3 separate regions of the Homo sapiens genome follow, and regions 1 and 3 are each linked to region 2. The links are contacts of gene promoters, found by promoter capture Hi-C in human tissues and cell types (Jung and others, 2019). All regions are on one chromosome and are shown on one strand. Each heading gives the region's core, a stretch centred on a gene start or on the middle of the fragment in contact. The rest is flanking DNA. Distances are from core to core; before and after follow the strand shown.

The links. The method cuts DNA at HindIII sites, captures the fragments that hold promoters and counts their contacts. A contact is called where the count stands out against the background at its distance.
Region 1: a fragment that was not itself captured here is called in contact with the fragment with the promoter of OLFM3 in region 2 in 5 of the 25 tissues and cell types used here (H1 embryonic stem cells, dorsolateral prefrontal cortex, heart left ventricle and 2 more).
Region 3: a contact is called between a fragment that was not itself captured here and the fragment with the promoter of OLFM3 in region 2, in 3 of the 25 tissues and cell types used here (H1 embryonic stem cells, hippocampus and mesenchymal stem cells).

Annotation. Positions count from the first base shown.
Region 1 is chr1:101,845,375-101,848,148 of GRCh38, reverse strand. The region is part of intron 1 of OLFM3 (olfactomedin 3); the gene reads left to right. Among named protein-coding and RNA genes, the nearest start is that of OLFM3, 150 kb to the left of the region's middle. RefSeq lists an enhancer at 873-1,377. The HindIII fragment of the contact is 4,101 bases long and covers 1-2,774 here.
Region 2 is chr1:101,995,666-101,998,365 of GRCh38, reverse strand. OLFM3 (olfactomedin 3) reads left to right here and starts at 1,440. Exons shown (of 6, transcript NM_058170.4): 1 at 1,440-1,618. The coding sequence starts at 1,550. The HindIII fragment of the contact is 3,886 bases long and covers 1-2,700 here.
Region 3 is chr1:101,814,202-101,816,901 of GRCh38, reverse strand. The region is part of intron 4 of OLFM3 (olfactomedin 3); the gene reads left to right. Among named protein-coding and RNA genes, the nearest start is that of LINC01709, 180 kb to the right of the region's middle. The HindIII fragment of the contact is 4,181 bases long and covers 1-2,700 here.

The DNA of each region.
Region 1 (2,774 bases), core at 12-2,511, 150 kb after region 2:
TGATTTCTTTCATTTGGAACCTGAGATTTGGATGTGGAAAATTTATAGTATTTATGAAAACAATATAATAAAGTTACCCATAAACCCTGGATTCTATATACCACACTTGCTAATGTAATCTAATAAACAGATCATTGAATTTGAGAGCTGGAAGGGACCTTGGAGAGCATATTTTCCAACATCCTTATATTGTAGAAAAAACTGAAGCCAAGGAATCTTGTCACCGGCCAGTCATATGGCTAACTAGAGGAGAACAAATACTAGATCCCAGACTTCCTGAGTCCAAGTCCTGTGCCCTTTATACTAAATCACATGTTCTCTCAAGATACAGACTTTCCATATCAGTCCGTCATTCCTCACAAACTGAAAATAGAGTTAACTGAGTTTCCTGTGTGACTGAACACCTACGAAGCAAAGCCTTCATTCTCAAAAGCAAAACTGGAAACACATATAAAATTTCTGTAACAGAAGTTTTTCTGCAAGGCTGTCTTTTCTCTTTTCTGTCTGTTCAGGTGTAAGATGCCTAAAGGTAATGTTTGCCACAAGCAGTAGCTATTAATCTTTGACTATATTTTTAAAGCAATGATGCTAATTTTAGGTTACTTTCTAAAAAAAAAAATTATCTCCTACTCTCAATATGATCATCTGGAAAATTATTTGCAGACTTTATTTTCATGTTCTTCCTAAAAGCACTCTGTCCTTGCCCAGAGAAATCTGTAGATATTAAGTTTGGTGTTTGAAATGTGCACTTTGGCAGACCTCCATTTAAAGGTGTATTTTTTTTTTTTAATGAAAGATAAAGAGTAGCTGATTATACTTACACAAACCCCAGAGGAAATGGATTCTGTTGATGGTAACTAACTAAAGTGGAGCTGGGAAAGCTCAAGTTTCCGCCTCCCTCCAACCTCTGCTCTCTGATAATTACCAACCAAGCCTATCAAGAATATTTTGTTTGATGATCCAGCAAAATGTCTGGTAAGGGAGGAAAAAGAAGGGCAGGGCACTTCCCACGAGGATGGGGGAAGGAGGTTCCGAAGCTTTCCTGGGTGATTAGAGCTGGGGAAGTTGATCTCTTTTCATGCTGTAGATGTGGCGCGCTGCAGTCACGCCTCCCGCTGCCAGCCCGGCACCGGGATCTTAATCAGTCACTATGAAAACTCATTAGCTCCACAGCAATGAGTCCTCCACTGCTGAAGCTTGGCGCTGTGCTTAGTACCATGGCAATGATCTCAAACTGGATGTCCCAAACTCTCCCATCCTTGGTGGGACTGAACACCACGAGGCTGTCGACTCCGGATACCTTAGTAAGTTACTGCGGTGGGTTTGGCCATCTTGAGAAGTAAGTGCATTTAGTGGGCTTTGTTTTGTAAATTGCAAAGGCTAAGATTTTGCTTCTGCCTTTACAGGTCAGCTTCAAAAATGTAGTAACTATGTGGTAACTTTCATCATATTTATTTATAAACACTTTATAGTTATACCCCAAAAATGGACTGCTTGAGAAATGAGCTATGAAAGAGAATACCAGAGTCATTAAATTCTTAAGGGTGAAAAGCTTTAACTATATTACTTGGAAGCTTGGGCAATTCTTAAAAATATATATATATATATGTTTTGTTTCTTATTCTTTTACTTATTTTAATATCTGTAAAAATCTTCATAATTTTTCCCACAAAGTAAGCTACAAAGTATATTCTGTCAAATCTAGTTCTGCTACAGCAGATTCTTCCTTGGAATGCAATGCCTGTGACTATTTGCAATGAATTCACTCAAAGAAACTAACATCTTTTAAGCATAAATGAATGAAAAAACTCGCCAATTTAAGGCCTGCCCAAAATTCCTTTAAGAAAGCTAAGAAACATGAGCAATAGAAAACTTACTTGATAAAAACATCTTCCTGTATTTTTAATATTTTATGAAGACTTCCTATCACAAGACTGTCTTGTATAATCTTCATTCATCTAAAATTAATGGCTTTTTAATCCTCCCTACTTTCTAACAAAGTATTTCCTGATAGTTTGAAGCAAGGTTCAGTGAGCAACATGTTTGATATTTCAAAGAAAAATGAAAACTATTGTTTTTTGAAATAGAAATTTACAAATTCAAATAAAAGGAATTTCTTAGAAAATAATTCCTCTGCCCTGAAATAAAAGGTACAGAAGCAAAACTAGGGGTTTTCACTTTCATGTGGGTTACTCCAGTGGATCAGAAAAAGTCAGATATGGAAAGAAAAGTAGCCCTCCATTTCCAAGTGTTATTTGCTGTTACTAATAATAATCTATCAACCAATGTTAATCAACTGAGTATAGTCTGACCAAAAAGTTAAATAATTTTCCAGATTCTCCCAGTGCTTAAGGCACCAGCAGAGCACATACAAGCCACACTTTGACCTGCTTTTACATTTTCATTTCCCTTAGGTTACTTATGGAACCCCAGAGCCTCCATTGCTGAGATCCTCTTCCCTACCTGCATGAAGTGGCCTGGCAGGAAGGATGTAAAAGAGATTTGGAGTTATAAAGAAAGCAAGAGATAGACATCAATAAACAATTACAAAACATAAACTTATATTATCTAATATTTACTGAGCCAATTTTTTTTTCAATGTCCAAGTACCAGATTTCAACAACATCATTGTTGAATTAACTCTTGCAGGATAATGAATGTAAACTGAGGTACTAATGAATGAGTTATATTTCAAACTTTGCACCTTGATTCTGACATGTATATTTTTTGTGTATATAGACATTGGCTTGGTTTTTTTTTATTGTTGACTGATG
Region 2 (2,700 bases), core at 191-2,690:
AAAGACCTCAAGTAACTATACACACATTTATAATATTAGGATTAAAACAGATGCAATATGATGTAAATTCTTGGGGACAATAACTTTCAAATGCATTTGAGTCCTAATTGAGATTTCTTATATTAAAAAATAGGATATATTTTCAGTGAAAGGTTGATGGAGATTTCATACTCGGTATGTGTCTGATATCTCAATTCATTGTCTTTTAAATGTCGAAGTAAAAGGAAGCAATGTCCACAGACCCAGTCTATCTATATATTTTAACCCTTAGGAATTATAATTTCTAGAAAAATCAATAGAAGATGGAAATATTACAGGCATAATTGTACGAGAGGGATGTTTCAGGGTGGCTACCAACTTCTTCCTTTTTATATTATTGAGAACACTTTTTCCATATTCAAAGAAATGAAATTGCTCCAGTAAGGTTGAATGATGCAGGGTAAGAGAGTTTGCCATTTACCCTTTCTTTGCTCTTGTGAGGCAGCTATTCTGCCTTTTCTTGAGCCCTAGATTACAGAAGTGTTTGAAAGCTTAGAAATAAACACTCTTCCCATCCCGCTATCCATCTATCAGTGAATTCTTCTTCAAGTAAAAACACAAGTCAGACTGATAGAAAAACTATATTTCCAGGTATGGCTGTGCATATGGGGGGGATATTTCAGCTGGGGGGATCACTAATGGAATATACCATTTATAACTAAAAGAAGAATATAAGCCTCTTTATTTATTTATGCATAGTGTTTTTAGATGACCAAATCCCTAGATAGATAGATACACATTAATACCTAACCAAAACATATAACTTTAATAAGCTATTCATAAATGACTGCACATATCTATAAATTACCACATTCATCTATCAATAACAGCTGAAAATCGTGTGCCTTGGATGACACACACTGATAGTCTGCACTGCAAACTTTGTTTAAAGCACTAAATACAATATCAAGTCCTCTGTCAATGACAGCAGAAGGTTCTAGTGCACTATTTGTTTCATAATCCTGTATTTAGCTGACTCTTTACTTCTCTGCAGCTCAAGTTGCCGGCAAATGCTGAACTGGAGCACGAGAGTCAATCCTTGTTTGGTTAACAAATTCCCCGCAAAATATCCCCCCGAAACCCCCAGGAGCTGTAGTGATGTCATATCCGTTGTCCAGGTCTCCACACCTCTCTCAGCAGTTAATCCCTTTATCTATTCCTTGGGTCAAAACTTTTGAGGTGGGCTAGCTATATAGCAGCGGGGGAGAGGGTAAACTGGGGCGCGCGGGTTGGAGGCGCTTCAGCACCGCGGCCAGCGCCCACTGCAGCCCAACCCACTCTCTAGAGCTCCCGGACTCCTAGCTCTGAGAATGCCTGCGGAATGATCGCCCCCCAGGGCGGCTGCCGCCGCTGCCGCTGCTGCTGTTATTGCTACTGCTGCTGCCGCCGCCTCTGCTTCCACTCGGCTCTGACTGGCAGGCAGAAAGTGCAACTGACGAGGGAAAGGTCTCTGCAGTGAGTGGAGAGCCTACATAAAAGAGAGTAAAGAGGGGCAAAAACCCAGATCAGAATGCAGGCGACGTCCAACCTTCTCAACCTCCTGCTGCTGTCTTTGTTTGCCGGATTAGATCCTTCCAAGGTATGAACAATATTTTGAGTCTTGTTTGAAATAAATGTGCAATATGTAACAAACCTAACAGAAATGCAAATAAATATGTCAAAAACGGGACGAGAGACAGCTCTTTCAGCTACCTTATGGTGTCTGGCGTATCCCCACTGCTTGGAACATAACAAGGTGAACTACCGGAGGAATAGCTCCTCAAGGTAGAGTCCTACTGCGCGGGGGGAGGGACTAGGAGAAAATATAATGTGCATGGGCAGCGGGCAATGCGGCTCTCCGGGGAATTTAGCTTATTCCGTGTCCAACTGCTTAATGCTCTCTTTTGAAGTCGGACGGGTAATGCAAAGGAGTTTGCAGTAGAAACAATGCAATTTATAAACATGTATTAGGACATGGTGAACCGTTTCTTTGTTGAAAGCAGGGAAGCGTTTTCCAGCTGATCCTGGTCAATAATACTCCCATCGCAGACGTGCTGCGGTTTGTGTCCAAAACATTTGGGATGCTGCTTGTAAAACACATGGCAGAGCAGCAGAGCTATACTCTCTGCCATGGCTGAGAGGCGTTGGTGAAAGGAGCTTGTGTTTGTTTCTTCCTTTTCATTAAGAAAATTAGGGGGCACTGAGGAAGTTCTGATTATCAGTGTTAAGAAACAGGAAGTGAGAACCTTAACAAACTAAGGAGGGCAATAGGAAGGATGAGTTAACTCATAGACGTTGAACTCTGAAAATTATCTAGTACTGGCAATGAAAGTGAACGCTAAACTCCTTTGATAAAAAGACAGGAAAATATGGACAAATATTTTCAACGATGTCTGAGAAAAGTCTTGATGACAAAGTGAGATAATTTGAAAGCTTCAGCCTTCTAAGAAAATCATAATGACAGGGAATAAGAGATAAGCCACCTGGTGAAAAAGAGTAAGAGATACAATTTATTATTTTACTTATTTAACTGGCCAACAGCAATTTGACAATATAGGAAGAATGATTCCATGCTATAAAACTAATACAAGCTATATTTTGGAATATTATAAAGTTATTTTTAAAGCTTTACATCATGTGTGTAGTGTAGACAAATTAAGTTTCCTTTCATTACTGAATAGA
Region 3 (2,700 bases), core at 12-2,511, 180 kb after region 2:
GGAAGCATCTACTAAGAAGAAATCAACATCGAGAGCTCTGTCAGCTTTTTGCTTCCTGAGAATAAGGGTAGATGATGGTGATCATAAACATAACGCTGATGGTGTTTATTTGACCACAACCACAAATACCACCTTCTGTCCACCAGCATATACATGCTATTGATCCACTATCTATTCAATGTTCCCTTAGTTAAAATGAAAAAATGTCAAGCTTCAGAATTTTCATTTTATAGATGAGGAAATTCCACTCCAGAGAATAAGGCATTGTCCAACTTCATACAATGATTGAATGCTGTGGCCTAGATTTGAAACCAGGCTTCCTAACTCATGCCTCAGTGTTCAAACCTGGATGGAATATACCACTCTAAGAACATTTCCTGTGAAATTGATGGGAGTAAAAACAGACAGACACTCACACACAAAAATTATAAAAGGAAAGATAGGCACATGATTACTCATGGTTACTAAACAGATTAAACTACCATCTGCTCATGGGATTCATTTATTTAATTATTGTCTTTCACAACATCAGCGTATTGCTCCCTACTAGATTATTTTTATAAACAAACCTTTCTTAACCATCATCAGCACAACAATAAAAACTTCCTGTAATCTCATATTTTCCTACTCCTGTCTCCCTGCTTCTTTTCCCTTGAAAGAATCTTTTATAGCTGCTACTTTGGTTACGTTCTTTTCAAACCAACTTCGATTCATTTTCTGGGATCACCACACTTTTTCTGAGTTTTGTAATCAGCAGTGACTCTTGCTGCCAAATTTTATGGTTATTTCTTTGATCTTATGCTGCTAGACATCTTAGTGGTGTTTTTCACAGGTCAGTACTATATCCTTCTTAAAACACTTTCTTCTTTTGGATTTCTTAATACCACGTTATTTTTTCTATCCAACTTATAGCTTATTCTTGGGCTTCTTTGATGAGTCTTATAAATATTGTGATTTACAGAGTTCTGTGCTAGATACCTTTCTCTTTTCTGTGTATGCCTTCCCTCTGAGGCAATATGTAGCCCCTGGCTTTCACTGTCATCATTATGCTAAAAACCATCAAAACTGTTTTGTCAAAACTCAAAGGAGTATCTGTTCCCTAGATTTATATGCTGTTTCTACTGATACGTGTAATAGTCATGAACAACTTAGAATTATCCCTGTTGGATTCTTTATTTTTGCTCCCAAACCCATTCCTCCCTCAGTCATTTCATCCGAGTAAATGACACTACAATCTGTCTAGCTGGACAAGCCAAAAATCTAGATGTTATCTTTGATTATTTTTTTTTGAGTTTTTAAATTCCCTTTCCTCACATCTAATCCAAAGCCTAGTCCTATCCACTTTATTCTAAAAACATACCCCAAGTCCATCTACTTTTCTCCATCTCCACAACTGCTTCCATCATCTTTCACCTAAATCAGCCTGATAACCTTTTTTTTTTTTTTTCTTTTTTTGAGACGGAGTCTTGTTCTGTCACCCAGGCTGGAATGCAGTGGCGCGATCTCGGCTCACTGCAAGTTCCACCTCCCGGGTTCATGCCATTGTCCTGCCTTAGTTTCCTGAGTAGCTGGGACTACAGGTGCCCGCCACTACGCCCGGCTATTTTTTTTGTATTTTTAATAAAGACGGGGTTTCACCGTGTTAGCCAGGATGGTCTCGATCTCCTGACCTTGTGATCCGCCCACCTCAGCCTCCCAAAACTGATAACCTTTTAATGAGACTGTTTACACTCTATCCACTCTACAATTAATATTCTATACAGTAGCTAGAGAGATCTTTCTAAGGTGCAGCTTACATTCTGTCATTCCCCTCCCCCTTTAAAATAATCCAATGACTTTCGATCATTCGTAGAATAAAATCCAAATCTTGTCTTCACAAAGTTTACAAACAATGTGGACTACTGGACTACTCATCTCTCCAATCTCGTCTTCTTCTGTTCCAAGTGTATTCTAAATACATTGATCTTCTTTCTGTTTATTTGCTCCTCTTAATTCATCAAGCGTATTAAGGCCTTTGCAATAACAATAATAATAGCTATTATTTCTTAAGTACTTAACTATGTACCAAGCACTATTTTAAACATGTAGCCATATTTTTTATTTAATCTTCTCAATAACACTTTGATACGATATTATTTCTATTGTTACCCATGAAACACTGAGAGGTTAGAAAATTGTTCAAGGTCTCCAGCGAATAAGGGATAAAATCAGGATTCAAATCCAGGCCGACTCTTTAACCCATGTCCCCAACCACTTTAAGATGCTGCCTTCCCCTAGCTATTCTCTAAATGGCTAAATCCACTAAACAACTGCTCCAGTAAATAAACTAAATGCCTAAATGTCCTTCTCTTGTCAATAAGATCTCAAATTAAATGTCACACACTGAGAGGTCTTCCTTACCCTCCCAATATCAAGTAGCTCCCCAGTCACTCTTTATAAAATTGCCCTACTTAAATCTTGGCATTAAATTTATTTCTGTATGATATGTTTAGTTTGTTTGTTTATTTGTTTTTTAATTTATTCTTTCTGTCTTCTCACCAAAATGTAAGCTTCACCAGAACAGAGGTGTCATGCTTTCTCATTATTGTTAACTCTAGTATCTGGAACAGTGCTTTCTGCTAAAAAAAAAAAAAAACCTTAGCTGGGTGAATGAATAAATAAATGAATGAAGCACATAGGTCACATACAAAAGCTGTTCTT